Regions from separate parts of the Homo sapiens genome. Here regions 2, 3 and 4 are each linked to region 1. Evidence: promoter capture Hi-C in 16 types of primary human blood cells and fetal thymus (Javierre and others, 2016). All regions are on one chromosome and are shown on one strand. The core of a region is centred on a gene start or on the middle of the fragment in contact, and the rest is flanking DNA. Distances in the headings are between cores, read along the strand shown.

Region 1 (3,669 bases), core at 297-2,796:
CCACTAAATCGACTTCTTCCAAAGTGAAGGCTCCTCCATCCAAGCTTTCTTATCATTGGGCTCAAGGTTGAAAGCCAGTAAAAAGTTTTCTTATTGAAGACTGAAACCACCCACCACCGTCCCTGGTTAATCATAAAAGAAGCGTTATTCTAAAAAACTCCAGTTCTCGCTGAGACAGCTGTTGACCCAATTTGTATACAAATGTGACACTCTGAACCTCTCTGGTTTAGTATTTGATAGCCCAACAGGGTGACTATATTCAATAAAGATTCAGGCTGGGTGCAGTGGCTCCTGCCTGTAATCCCAGCACTTTGAGGGGCCAAGGCGGGAGAATCAGTTGAGCCCGGGAGACTGAGACCAGCCTGGGCAACACAGTGAGACACCGTTTCTAGAAAAAATAGAAAAAAGCCAGATGCGCGCCTGTAGTCCTAGCTACCCAGGAGGCTGAGGTGGGAGGATTGCTTGAGCTCAGGGGTTGGAGGCTGCAGTGAACCCTGATCCTACCACTGCACTCTAGCCTGGGAGACAGAATGATACCCTCTCTCAAAAAAAAAAAAAAAAAAAAAAACAAACTGTACATTTAAAAATAACTAAGAGTAACTGGATTATGGTTGAATGCTTGTGGTGATGAGTATCTCATTTACCCTGATGTAATTATTACACATTTATACCTCTATCAAAATAGCTCATATACCCCATAAACATACACACCTACTATGGACCCACAAAAATTAAAAATAAAAAAGAAAAGCCTCTTTGGTCCACTCAGTCCACCACCCGTATTAGAATGTAAGAGTTTTTTTCCTTGGGAAAAGTGTCCGACAGAACCAAGGCTCGGTAAAGGATACTAATAATGTAATAATATAATATTAACAAACATCTACTGAGCTTTAAATACGTGGCAGGCACTGTGCTGTGCACTTTATGTGCATTATCCAAATTAACTCTCAGTAATTCCAGGAGTTCTTATCACCGGGGTCTGTGGAAGAGGAAATGGTGGTTTACGGCAATTTCCGAATGTCGCACAGTAGAAAGTGGACCAGCAACCAGGGTTGCAGATCCCAAAGTCCGGGATCTTCACCATTTCACCCAACCGCCTTAGAGACCTCCCAGCAAAAGGTCTAAGCACGAATGCTCCAGAAAACAGGTCCAGGTCACGCGTGCCTTCTCCCTTTCCCTCTGGGCTCGACAGTGGTGCACAGAGCGACTAGGGAGTGGGGGCCGCGGTTATTTCATTAGAAAAGCTCTGGAGCCCCGGGAGCCCTTCGTCCCAGGCGCACTTGCCCTGCAAGCCCTTCTGGAAGGCGGCAGCGTCCAGGCGGTCCAGCGCATCGAGCCGCGCCAGGCGCACCGAGATGCCCCCGAATCTGTCCAGCTCGCCCTGCAGATCGCACGCTCCAACTGGCGGATTCCGCACGTAACCCTGTGCGCCCGAGGCCCAGCGGTAACCCGCCGAAGGCCCGGGGCCGTAGGTTCGGGCAAGCATCGCGCGCCAGCGGCCCCAGCTCAGTGGCTGCCGCATCTCCACGCCGCTTAATTCGTCCGTTGCCCAAATGACCCCTCCGCGCTCCAGAGCGGAGATCGCGGCCGTACATTTTAGAAGAGTGCCATCAATACCCTCAGAGTTGAGCTGGGGTTACCACTCTGCAGAGCTATGCCAAGGAGACCGCGAAGTGGTCCACCAGCCCTTCTCAGCAATTTGCCCCGCTCCAGTTAAGCGGGGAAAACCTCCTCCCCCACCGCCACTCACTTATTTTGTTTGGTAGTTTAATTCAACAGACGTTGGTTTAGGGATGGGGAAGCCGGGAGGAGATGCAAAAACGTCCTGTTTTTCAGGAATTTACAATCTAAGTGGCAGTTCCGTTCCTGGAACCTATCTTCTTTCACAGATGCCGTTACAGCTGTTTCAAAGACTGCTGGTTTTGAAAACGCTCAGTCCCTCCCACCACGCTGTGCACTGCTGCGCTCCACTCAGGGGATTACGGCGCAGGGGCGGACCCTCGCTGACTTCTGCCCCGGAAGTTTTTCTCTCAGTTGAAGCGCGCACATTGAGTCGGCTTTTCTACTGCTTCGGCTAGGGTACCTTGTGACCATGTCTTCCAAGAAGAATAGAAAGCGGTTGAACCAAAGCGCGGAAAATGGTTCGTCCTTGCCCTCTGCTGCTTCCTCTTGTGCGGAGGCACGGGCTCCTTCTGCTGGATCAGACTTCGCGGCAACCTCCGGGACTCTGACGGTGACCAACTTATTAGAAAAGGGTAAAGAATTCCGGGTGGGAGACTAGAGGCCGAGGGGGCGCAACCTGAGGGGCGGGAGACTCAGTGATACTGACTTGGGGTGCAGAGACTTTTGAAAGTTGGGCGTGGCATGGGTCTGAGAGCGGCACAGAAGCGTGTAAGACTTCTGTATGTAAGAAGCATGCAAACGTAGCCGCGCCTGCACTGGAGAAGTTAGGCTGAAATGGTTTATCCGTGTCCAAGGTTTCTCTTTTGTAAATTATTTTGAATTTTTAAGTTGCACTTGAAACGCTTTGTCTCATTTAACATTAACGACACATTTAATTGCAAAATTGTTCATAACTAGCGAACATGGGATACTTATCCTAAAAAACTAAATAACCAATTCAGTAAAAATGTGGATCACTCTGCCTTTAGGAGTGATGATAGCATTTTCTTCCAGTACTACGCAGGTTATGATATTTAATAACTGCTAGTAACTGCACACTAGTGTTAGCAGTATATATAGCTCATCTAATTTCTACAGAAGCCGTGACCGATGGGTATAGTAATGACAGTTTTATAGAGGGAGGAAAGTTAACGTGATTCCATTCAGGCTACACAGGTGCTAAGTGGCAGAGCCGATATTTGAGTCCAGATGTGTTTGACTTAAAAGCCATTCCTAGATGACAGCTCCTTTGATTTGGGAGAACGTATTTATACTGAAAAGTCTTATAAATTGAATTAAAAATTGAAAATTTATATTTGATGTGTAATAGCTTTGAAAAATGGACCAGACTAGTGGCAAAAACTTTTATGTCTAATCAGACCTTAAAGACAATTTAGAGTTCACATGGTATTTTCACTCTGCCTTAGGTATCAGAGGACAACTTGTTCTGTCCTGAAGGTTCAACTTGTTTTTGAACTAGATCCTTCCCATTGACATGTAAACATGCTCATTTCTCTTCCATCTTAAATCAGAACAAAAGCTCCACATTTTCTTCCTGCAACCGTCTCTCTATCCATTGCCAAGCTTCTTAAATGGAGTGGTCTCTGCCGCCTCACCACTTACATACTCTCCCTAGCCTATTCCTCTTTGACTTCCACCCCATCATTCCATGGAAACTGTTCCTGGTGTGGTCTCCGAGCATCTCCGTGTTGATAAACCTTACGTGACCACAGCAACTTTTGGTATTGTTGACCATTCCCTCCTTCTCGAAACACTTAACTTCTTATGTGTTGTCAAACTTGCCTGGTTTTCTTCATCTTTGTTGATGTTTCATCATTTTTCTTTGCAGGCTCGTCCTCTTCCCTTGACCATTAAATGTTGAAGTTCGTCAATTCTTAGTCCAAAACCTTTTTTTTCCTCTCAATAAATCCTGTCTCCTTGGCAAGTTCATCCAGTGCCCAGAGTTTCCCATCTATAGTCTCTTCAGTGTCAGATTTATATTTGTAA
Region 2 (3,669 bases), core at 1,170-3,669, 1.8 Mb after region 1:
TTCCAGAGACACCACTAGCATTATTCCCAGAATTCATTACAAGTGATGGTGCATTGACAGCACTATTGCAGCAGTTACTTTTCTCCTGGAGGCAATGCTGAAGCTTGTGGAAAACCCACTCCCTACAGTAAAACTGCTTCCCTTGCAGTAAACTGGTTTGAGCCATTTTGCAGACTTTCTCTTCCCAAGGATTAGTCATAACGGGTTTTTTATCTTCATTTGCTAGAGTCTGGATACATCAACACAGGTCTTTCCATCCATTATGACATAACTTGTATATTAAGTTGACTCTGAAGACAGAGTAACTAGTTACAGTAAAATTCAACAGCCACAGAGTTCCTCTGTCAACAGAACGTGCATGACTTTATTTGGTTCCTTATTCTTGATCAGCAGTCTATGTATTAGTTGTTGAACTGAGGGAGAAACGCCTGATTCCACAGCTCAGCAACACTTTTCCTAAATTTTAATGAGTCACATAACTCCATGGTTATAACTGGAGTTTATGTGATTGTGGATGTTTCAAGAACAGAGATGAGACAATACATGTGGAAAACTAAAGAAAAAACCCAATCTTTCAATTTGTACAAAATGCTTCTCCAGATTCCAAGTGTTAATTCTGCATCTGACAATTAGATTCTGAAAAGAGGTCCACTGCATTAAATGGCATCAGAGAGATTACATTTATACGGTATGAGGTACAGTATGTAAGTAGCTCTGTATTTCTCGTTGAAGGATGATCACTCAAGAGTACTAGATCGTGCCAGTTTCAGGCATCTGGGCAACTGCCAGGAACTGTTTCAGATTATAGTCTCTTATGTGGCAGAAATGACAACCACTGTTAACACCTTCTTAATTCAAAGCATTCATAATATGCATTTTTCAAGACAGCAGATTCTTAATGAACCTGTTCACAGGTTTCTTGGTTTTAAGACGTCCGGGTAATCAACAATTTCCACAAGTAACTAAAATAAAACAAACAAAAATACCTCAGTGCAAAATATCATATGTTAAAAACTTATTAAGGACAATAAAGGTTGCAGTGTACCAGTTAACGTAATCTCAAAAATCCACGTACTTCACCTTTGGCACTTTCAAAAAGTTGGACAAAAACCACTGAAATAATCACATTCTCCCTTCTGCATTTTTCTTCCTCATTGTTATGCTTCCCAAACAGCCACATTTTAATCAAGTTACCCAAGATTTTTGCAACTTCACCATAGCAAAGGAGGGGGGGAGAAACTTTACGCACATACAGTAACACCCTTAACTCCAGGCAAAACGCTCATTCACAGTAGACTGGTAGAACAGCGCCAGCTAAGGAAGCTCTATTAACTTACACAGTCCAGTCAGTCAAGGACTGTCTACTCCTCCAGCCACACTTCTTTGTTGATAATGTGCAAAAATCTAGGGGAAGATTACCAGGGTTGCAGCTGGATGGGAAACGGTTTAAAAAAAAAAAACAAAAACGATGGGGGATGACTGTTCTTATAAGAATGATAAAGCAAACACAAGTAAAATGTGAATCCTTCCTTCCTCTGGGCCAAGGATGGAGGTCAGGGATAAAATCTACCAGTCTGGCCGGAGAAAAGGCTGCTAGAGAGAAATTCCTTCCAAGACAGGAAAGGGATAAAGAGTAGAGTGCTTCGGTGCTGGTGGGTGTCTGCCCACAGGTCCGGCCTCCAGTTTCAGCTGACAGACAAAAGGAACTCCGGGATTCCCAGCGCCGGGCACCACCTTGGGTTGGAACCGCCCAGAGGAGCCACAGGGGAGCCACCTCAGAGAGGCCACGAGCGAAGGTGCAGCCTCCACACCGAGGTCTGCCCTTCCAGAGGCTGGGAGCGCCTCTGCACCCCGCCCCGCACCGAGATTGGGGTGTGTCTTTTGAAGGGGGAGGGGGTGACTGAGGTCCTTGCCAATCCCAGACGAGGGGTCGCCTCCCGGTCGGCTTCCGCCTCTGCGCTCCCGCCCCATGCCCCGCTCCCGCTCCCACCCGGCCGACGGCGGTGCGAGGGAAGAGGGCAAATCTGGGGCTCGAGGCCGGAGAGGGTGGGTGGTTGGGTCAGGTCCAAGCCACGGCCTCGGCCTCCCAGCTTCCAACCCGAGGGAGGGGCCTCGCTTCCACCGCCGCCGCCGCCCCCCGGTTACCTCGGCCCCAGCCGCCGCCGTGGCCGCCGCTGCCGCTGTTAGGGACTCTCAGTCTCAGACACTTGCTTCGCTGAGAAGTCGCTGCCAGCAGCGCTCCCAAGACTCCACTCCAACTGCAGCCGCCTCCTCCGCCGGGCCCGGGGCACGCTCCCAGCTCCGGATCCTCCTCTTGGCCCCCGGCGGCTGCCAGTTCCAGCTTTCCCAGCAGAATCGGTCGTGCTCGCCCCAGCCCCCACCGGCCAACCGCCGCCGCCGCCGCCGTCAGGGCAGTAACTGTCTCAGGCAGCCCCCGGCCGGCCGGCTCCGCCCCGCCCGCCCAGCCCAGACCCCGCCCCCGCCCCCGCCCCCGCCCCGCCGCTCGGCCTTTCTTTGCCCGCCGGCTCCGCCTCCGCGTCCTTCCCCTCCCCCACCGCGCTCTCCCGCAGCATCCCGTGCCTGGGCGTGTGCGGCCGCCTGGGACCCGCTGCCGGCGCGGCGGGGAGACCTGTCTCGGGGCGGCGTGGGGGCCCCGCCTTTCTCAGGGGAGGCGGAGAACGGGGCGGGGGCTGCGTTCTCACGTCTCCGAGCTCACGCGAGTCGTTGCCCCCACCCTCCCCGTCACCACTGGGCCCTGATCCTTCCTTTGTCTTCCAGGCCGGAGGGACTCGCCGGCTGTTGGTGCCGTATCTGCTCCTGGGAGGGGCAGTTGGGTAGGGGGAGATTGCCTCTTGCCTCTCTCTGCTCAACCCTTTTGCCTCTCCCTTAACCCCGTTGCTTCCAAAGCCACTTCGGGCCCCGTTCTACCCCTCAGTCGTCCGGTCTCCTTTCAGTCCATTAAATTCCAGGGATGCTTTTACTTTGGCTGGGACGAAGAGAAGGAAGGAAAAGACTGGGAAGAATGTTGCGAAAATAGAAATAGTGGGGGTATACAGCGACATTCCTACCAGCCTCATGAAAAGGACGTGGCCTCCATCAGATGGAGGTTGACAGCAGGCTTGACTGGGTCTCAGGCCCCTGCTCCTCAGGGCCACTTGATCACCCGCAGCGTCCACTAGGGGGGAAGGTCTTGGTCATGTGGCGTCAGGAAATGCCCTAGAGGGCCTGCTCACAGGGGCCTGTTGGACTAAGCATGTCAGTTGTTTGCACTTACTGGACCTGAGTTGCTTAGATTCCAAATTTCTCCCGGGAAAATAAGTATACCGTCAACTGATGGAATAGGAAATGTAGCATTTTTTATTTTAATTGTTTATGCTAAAATCCAGAGTGCTCTATTTCCCATTCCTCATTAACTTGCATGTGGTTATTTGCCAAAATATTAAGCCAGTCTCCCATCTAGTTTTAGAAATTTCATAGTATAGCTATCACAATAAGAAAGATGGATAAACAAATAGATCGTGTTTGTGCTTACTCTTTCATATTGTTTATTCGTGCCAATTGAGGTTTACTGATCTTAGTATTTAATTTTAATTCATGTACCCTGAATTTTGGGCTTCTTTCCTAAAACACAAGCAAAAGAGGCAGAGTATAAATTCTCCAGAATTAGGG
Region 3 (3,669 bases), core at 1-2,500, 1.1 Mb before region 1:
AAGGAAATAGGAGCCTCTCCTCTGTCACTGCTAGGGAATAGTGGAGAAATCAGAATCTATACAGTACCTTTTGTGTAGCTCTGTGTCTTGAGGCAGGAATTAGCTTCATAGTCTTCTGAGATGTTACTCCCACCTAAAGAAAAACACCAGATGCCTAGTGAATTTAATTTGAAGTTATTACAGAGATTAAAATAAGTTATAGTGAACCTTTTTGTTAAACTGAAATTAGTGATATAACTATTATCAGTAATTAATTTATTTTCTAATGAGATATGTCATATTAGTCAGAATACATATAGGAAACAACCAAAATAGTAAAATTTATCCTATAAAGTTGTCAAGCCAAAAATAGTTGTGTAAGATGACTGGCAAGATGCTTTACTAAAAAATATCTCTAGAAGCCTTCTTTTCCAACTGCATACAGTTGTTCAGCAAAGTGATTCAAGAACTTTGAAAATAGATTATAGTTATTAAAAATGCAACGGAAGACCACATGCAGTGGCTCATGCCTGTAATCTCAGCACTTTGGGAGGCTGAAGTGGGAGGATCACTTGAGCCCAGGTGTTCAACACCATCTAGGCAACACAGGGAGACTCTGTCTCTACAAAAAATAAAAAATTAGCTAGGCATGGTGGTGCATGCCTGCAGGCCCAACTACTTGGAAGGCTGAGGCAGGAGGATAACTTGAGTCCAGGAATTTGAGGCTGTGGTGAGTCATGATCATGCCACTGTACTCCAGACTGGCTGCGTGACAGAACAAGACCCTGTTTCAAAAAAAAAAAAAAAAAAAAAAAAAAAAAAAAGAAGATTTATGCTAAAATACCAAATATGATAATGGCCATAACATCCAATCTAACAGGTGAAGATTATTTTACAAAAAAATACAGAGGATGAAAGCAGCAGGGAACTGTCACTGCTGGTGTATAGTTAGGAGAAGAGGATGGGACCAATGGGAGAGGAATTGGTGAAAACAACACATCATGATAAAACGTTCATATAGTATAAATGACTTTATTCTGCATTCCAGAAAATTGTATTAAAGTCATCTGCTTAGATTTGTATTTCTGAAACATCAATCTAGCAAGTGATGTGAAGGATGGCTTGGAGGGAGATGAAGCTGGAGTTCAGGAGCCCAATTTGGAGGTTATTTCAATTATTCAAGCAAGAGAAGATGAGAACCCAAATGAGGGTAATAGAGATGGAAGATATGGGACAGATTCAAGAGATATTTGGGAGTTAAAAGCAGTAAGATGTGGTGACCAGTTGGATATGGAAGTACATAGCATAAACCCCTAGAAAATTGACTGGGCAAACATTTGTACCATTAACTAAAATGAGGTGGCCTAAAAATATGATGAGGAATTGGGGTAGAGAGAATTTTAGGTCTGAAAGAAATTCTGAAAGGCAGTGTAGTGTAACAAAAATACACCAGTTCTGGAGTCCGAGACTTTGATTCAAATAGCCACTCCCTAATTTTTAGCTATTAAGCAAATTACTTGCCTTCTCTAACCCCTTAGATCCTCATTTATAATATTGTCTACTTTGCAAATTCTTATGAGGATTAAATATGTTGGTAGGTATGCTAAATTCTTAGAATAAGCTAGATGCACATTAAACTGTTGTCATTGCTTTTTTTCCCCCTTTCGAGACAGTCTCGCTCTGTCGCCCCAGCTGGAGTGCAGTGGCATGATGTCAGCTCACTGCAGCCTCCGCCTCCCGAGTTCAAGCGATTCTCCTGCCTTAACCTCCCGAGTACCTGGGATTACAGGCGCCCGCCACCACACCGGGCTAATTTTTGTACTTTTTGTAGAGAAGAGGTTTAACCATGTAGGCTAGGCTGGTCTCGAACTGCTGACCTTAGGTGATCCGCCCGCCTCGGCCTCCCAAAGTGCTGGGATAACAGGCGTGAGCCACTGCCCCCGGCCCGGTTTTCATTGCTTTTACCATGATCTGCCTGGTGCGGTACAGCTCACAGTAAGAAACAAGTGCCTGGTGCTCCGCAAAAGGGTCCGGGTAGAGATGGAGATTGAGGATTAGAGGCCCTCAGGCAGCCACGGCTAGGGAGGAGGAGAAGGGCCCTGGGGGGAATCCGGGATGAGACAGTGTCACATTTTCAGAGCATCCTCAGGACCCGGCAGAAGCCAGTACCGTGGGGGCTTGTGCCGCTTTTCCCCGGTCCCCTCGGACCGTCACAGACGAAAGGGAGCTGCCCAAAGGCGGGGTGCTGAGAGGTCGGCACCCAGCCCGGCTCCTTCGCCTCCGCACCAGCTCCTGGCGACCGAGACTTTCGTCAGTGGAAGGAAGGAATCCTCTCCGGGTGCTGGGCTTGCCCAGCGCGGCGCCCGCCCTATCCCTTGGGTTTACCTGCAGATAATCCATTCGGTTTAAAATCAGATCCATGATGACTACGCGGAGGGGCTAAGCAGCGCCGGACAAGAACAGGAGGGACAGAGGCTTCGGGCCCGCAGGCCTCCGACCCAGTCAGAAGGCTGCCCGCGCCCCTCAAAAGCCAGCCCCAGCTACCGCGCCTAGGTCCTGGGCTGCACAGGCGGGGCGACAGGGCAGTGGCGTCCTGCGTGACGTCAGTACGCTGCTGCGAGGGGCTCCTGGAAGAAGATGAAGGCCCGCCCCTTTCCCGAAGCACCGCCCACTGACAGCGTGTTCCAATCAGAGGCGGAGAGGAACAAAAGAGGCGAGGTCCGGGAGACCCATACAGGGCGGTTTCCACAGAGACCCCAGACGCAGTCTTGGCTCCACCCTCACCGCGGCCCAGGGCTAATACTGGACTTCTTTCCTTATCGCTGTAGAAAAAACTAGATAAGCCTGCTAGATTCTGACCGATTTCACTCTGACATTGGAAAGGGTCCTACAAAGAATTAGGTTCCACCGTTATAGGTGCTAGCTTACAGCAGCGGTTCTTAGACTTTTGGCCTTAGGACTTATTTACAAGACTCTTAAAAACCGTTGAGGAGCACAAAGACCATTTGCTTTTTGTGGGTTTTCTCTCATTTTTAATGTTTTTTTTATTTCAATAGTTTTGGGTGTACAGGCGGGTTTTGGTTACATGGATGAGCTCTTGAGTGGCGAATTCCGAGATTTTAGTGTACCCGTCACCCACCAGTGTACACTGTACCCAATATGTAGTATTTTATCCCTCACCCCGCTCCCAATCTCCTCCCTACCTGGAGTTCCCAGAATCCATTATATCGCTCTGTATGTCTTTGCATCCTCATAACTGAACATGCAGTATTTGGTTTTCTATTCCTAAGTTACTTCACTTAGAATAATGGCCTCCAGTTCCATCCAAGTTGCTGCCAAAAGATATTATTTCGTTCCTTTTTATGGCTGAGTAGTATTCAATGGTGTATATATACTACATTTTCTTTATCCACTCGTTAGTCAATGGGCACTTAGGTTGGCCCCATATCTTTGCAATTGCGACTTATGCTGCTATAAACATGCGTGTATATGTGTCTTTTTCCTTTGGGTAGATACCCAGTAGTGGGATTGCTGGATTGAATGGTAGCTCCACCTTTATTTATTTATTTAAGGAAACTTTATACTGTTTTCCATAGTGGTGGTATTAATTTACATCCCCCAAGCAGTGCAAAAGTGTTCCCTTTTCACCATATCGACACCAACGTATATTTTCTAAATTTTATTTTTTAT
Region 4 (3,669 bases), core at 843-3,342, 1.0 Mb before region 1:
AAGAATAGACAAATTGCAGTATTTTCAATGTAATGTTATTGTGTTCATTAATGAAATTAATGCACCATAGCCACACACAACAGTGTGGATGAATCTTAGAAGCATAATGTTGAATGAAAAATTCCAGTTGCAGAAGACCACAGAGTATGAAGCTATTCTTATGAAGCTCAATAACAAGTAAATCTGTAGAATATATTTTTAGGAATACTGACACATATAAGAAATTATATTTGAAAAGAAAATCAAAGCAAGAAGAGGAGAAACCCAACTTCAAGATAGGGATTAACTCTTAGGTGGAGGCAGAGGAGTAGGTAGCAAGGTGCATATAAGTAGAGGCAATGGACGGATAATGTTATCATTGTCAGGTCGGTGGTGGTTTCATAGGTGTGAATGTAATTATGCTTCATAATTTATTTTGCATTACACATATTCTTAAGCATGTAACAAATGTTGTATATAAAAGATAACAAAGGAAAGGGAAAAAGACCTGAACTAAAATGCAGACATAGCGAGAGTAGAAAATATATACTTCAATTTTAAGAAAGTAGAAATTATGCCAAGGTCAAGTAAAAGAGAAGAATCCAGGAAGATTCAAAATGTTATGCAGAGAATAACAACAGACTGAGAGGGCCCACGCTACTGAAAAGGAAAAGCTCATTTTTCCAGTCACTGTAAGACATAAAACCTGTTGAATTTTGTAGAATCTAGATCCCAGGACAGACTCACAGCTGGATGGATCTTAAACTGGACTGATTCATTCATTCAGCAAATATTTATTGAGAGCCAATTCTGTGGCAGGTACTGTACCAGGTGCTAGGAATACAACAGTGAACACAGTCCCCAGTCCAGTGAAACTTCATATTGATATGGAACCATTCACAATAATGGGTGAACATATCAGGGATCTGGTTAAATTTAGGGGACAGTGAAGACAGATTCCTATAAAATGAAAATACAAAATTATGTGTATCAGTTGAAAGCAGCTTGAAAGGCAGTAATACAAATTGGTGGAAAAGAAATGACTATTTAAAAAGTAGTGCTGAGACAAGTTGAGCCTCTGCACAAGGCAAGAAGGTACCTGAGATTAGACAGAAATCAGTTTCGCCACACATGACACTACCTGGTAATAGTCCATCCCTTTGTTCATGTTGGAAAGATAGTTCATGAGAATTCTAAAATGATCTGCAGCTCAGAGAAGGAGACAAAGATTGGCCATCCCCATTCTATTAGGAAGCTTGTCTAGTAAACCCAAGACAGTATTGTGTAATAGGCAACAAAGACTCTTGAGGTCTCTCTCCCCCTATCGCAATAGTTCCTGAATAAAATCTGTTTTTACCACTTTAGCTGCTGTCTGGCTCTGGTTTTCTTTAACACAGTTGAGACTGTGAGTTGCAAGAACAAATCATGTAGTTTTGAGTTGTGACTCCATCATTCACAAGCTCTGGAACCTTGGTATCTTAATCTGTGTAATGGAAATGCTAGACAGTGTCTTGTAAAAGAGACAATACATGTAAATTACATAGTAGGTGCTCAAATAATATAACTATTATTCTTTCATTATTATCTATGCTTCTGTAAAGCAAATCTTGATAAATCCATCTTAATGATGGTACCACAAGCAAGGACCATGAAACTCATATGTAACAAGTAAAAGTACCATTTTAAATACTACCTTTAACTAAATTTCCAACTGATTCTTTAATTAAAGCTAGTACAAAAAATTAAACTGACCAATAACAGATTCATCTTTTTTCCCTCTTGCTCAAATTGCTAACTAACTAACACAAAAGAAGTCTATAGATTAACTTCCACATTCCACAAACCTCCAGAAATTATATAGCTTTCTTGGTACAAGCCTGTGAGTCACTCTTTAAGGAAGACATTCTAACTCTATAAAGACTATTGATTTTCTCTGTCCAGGGTATGGAAATCCTAGAGAGAGGTTCCAAAACTGAAATTGAGTGGTAACCAGGTAAAGATTCCAGGCGGTACTTACTTCAAACAGTCCTTCCTGCAAACAAACCCAAGTTCATTTTTCAACCCTCCGTTAAGACTGGGAGAAGAAATAAGATGTGGGTGGTTGGGTAGCTGCGGGGTGGTTAGATATCTTCCTTCCTGAAAGGAGTGAAAGTTTTTCTTCTCACTTGGTATTTTTACTGATTCAAATTCAACTAATAATTGTTAAGCACTCTATCAGGTACTTTTACATTCATTCTCTCACTTAATTCTACAGAGAAGCCAAATTTGACTCTTATTAGTAGATTTTGTACTATGAATTTTAACAATCTAAAAAGTGTGAATGAAGGGTAATAAGACTGATGTAGACAAATAGAAAAAAAACTCAGAAGTACAGAGTAAAATTTTAGAAAGGAAAAGGACCTTGGGAATCATTGTTTTTCATGTTTTTATACCACTCACGAAACTTTGTGAAAGATTACCATTACACAGCTTCTGTATAAACTTCTGTGATTGAGGGCCTGCTATTTTTCCAGACAGCTGGTTTAATCTATTTTTGGACAACTATAGCTGTTAGAAAACAACTCCTTTGTTTTGAAGCCAAAATAACTATCGGTCCAAATTCTGTTCTTTGGGGTAACAGAGAATAAATTTGTTTTTTATTCTACTTGATTGACTTTTACCTGTTACTTTTTTCTGCATTTTTTTGTTTTTTGTTTTTTTTGAAGAGGGACCTGCAAACCTATTGATTGACTTTAAAATATCTTCTCTTGTAGGTTTCCCAGTTCTGTTGACCTAAAGAAAAAATCTGAGGCAAACTAAATATATAAGTAGAGAGTTTATCTGGGCCAAGTTTAAGGACTGCAACCTGGGGAGCACAGATTCAAGTTGCCCTGAATATGTGCTCCAATTCGCAGCAATTACTAGTGGGTTTTTAAAGGAAAAGAAGAGGCAGTTCCTAAGTTGTTTATCAAGGACTTACATTGAAATAACATAAGCTTTTGACTGGTTATACATTGTTCTTTGTATCACAAATTCTAGGTACATGAAGATAACAGGTGAGGCTGCAAGTCAGGAACAAATGAATTTAAACAACTGCCCTCAGGCGTGGGTAGAGGTAGGGGACTGTGACTGAAAGTCCCATACTCATGTTCTCTGGGCCTGCATACCTCACATAGTTCAGACTGCTCTGAGCTATTTTTGTTTTCTCTATTCCCAAACCATTTTATTTATATTTCATTGCATTTATATTTATTTCTATTTCATATATAGGCATAACTATACTACATAGCATGTAGCGTTATGTGAATATTTGTCTACTTATACTTTCCTTTCCTTCCTCCTAACCTCAACACTGCCATTCTACTTCAATGGAGAGATTCTTGAAGGCATGACTTATATCTTTGTATCTGTATAACCTAACATCATGTATATAACAGGGGTTGTCCCTGAATGTGCCTGAAGCTCACTGTGAGTGGAGTTCAGGAACATCTCATTTTGCCCCATTTAGAGAAAAACTCTCATGTGCTTCCAGTAAAACCAAGCCATCAATGATATCCTTCATGGATTGGACCAGAGTCCACCACCTGGGCCAAAGACTGTCCAATACTGTATTTGTTTGGACCAAGGGTGTTACCAAAGCGAAGTCATCTGTGAAAGCAGATCTGCCAGCAAGAGACAACAGAGAGAATAAAACTCAAGAACTCATAGTCC

Evidence for each region. Contacts are between HindIII fragments. The CHiCAGO score rates a contact against its expected background, and 5 or more counts as called.
Region 2: a contact is called between the fragment with the promoter of ANKRD50 here and the fragment with the promoter of NUDT6 in region 1, in 1 of 17 cell types (fetal thymus). The highest score is 5.9, in fetal thymus.
Region 3: a fragment that was not itself captured here is called in contact with the fragment with the promoter of NUDT6 in region 1 in 2 of 17 cell types (naive CD8 T cells and fetal thymus); the score reaches 7.4 in naive CD8 T cells.
Region 4: a fragment that was not itself captured here is called in contact with the fragment with the promoter of NUDT6 in region 1 in 4 of 17 cell types (total B cells, non-activated CD4 T cells, naive CD8 T cells and 1 more); the score reaches 6.2 in total B cells.

What each region holds. Positions count from the first base shown.
Region 1 is chr4:122,921,051-122,924,719 of GRCh38, forward strand. NUDT6 (nudix hydrolase 6) reads right to left here and starts at 1,547. Exons shown (of 5, transcript NM_007083.5): 1 at 1,285-1,547. The coding sequence starts at 1,522. It overlaps AFG2A (AAA ATPase AFG2A), which reads left to right and starts at 2,028. Exons shown (of 16, transcript NM_145207.3): 1 at 2,028-2,255. The coding sequence starts at 2,093. RefSeq lists enhancers at 1,691-2,227, 2,020-2,389. The HindIII fragment of the contact is 3,202 bases long and covers 43-3,244 here.
Region 2 is chr4:124,710,313-124,713,981 of GRCh38, forward strand. ANKRD50 (ankyrin repeat domain containing 50) reads right to left here and starts at 2,420. Exons shown (of 5, transcript NM_020337.3): 1 at 2,146-2,420; 2 at 1-962. The coding sequence starts at 199. RefSeq lists enhancers at 1,828-2,393, 2,394-2,959 and silencers at 1,907-2,146, 2,297-2,676. The HindIII fragment of the contact is 8,904 bases long and covers 102-3,669 here.
Region 3 is chr4:121,867,914-121,871,582 of GRCh38, forward strand. BBS7 (Bardet-Biedl syndrome 7) reads right to left here and starts at 2,561. Exons shown (of 19, transcript NM_176824.3): 1 at 2,365-2,561; 2 at 68-133. The coding sequence starts at 2,400. It overlaps BBS7-DT (BBS7 divergent transcript), which reads left to right and starts at 2,738. Exons shown (of 1, transcript NR_186650.1): 1 at 2,738-3,669. RefSeq lists an enhancer at 2,262-2,491. The HindIII fragment of the contact is 5,906 bases long and covers 1-3,669 here.
Region 4 is chr4:121,884,043-121,887,711 of GRCh38, forward strand. All of the region lies in intron 10 of TRPC3 (transient receptor potential cation channel subfamily C member 3), which reads right to left. Among named protein-coding and RNA genes, the nearest start is that of BBS7-DT, 15 kb to the left of the region's middle. The HindIII fragment of the contact is 1,720 bases long and covers 1,233-2,952 here.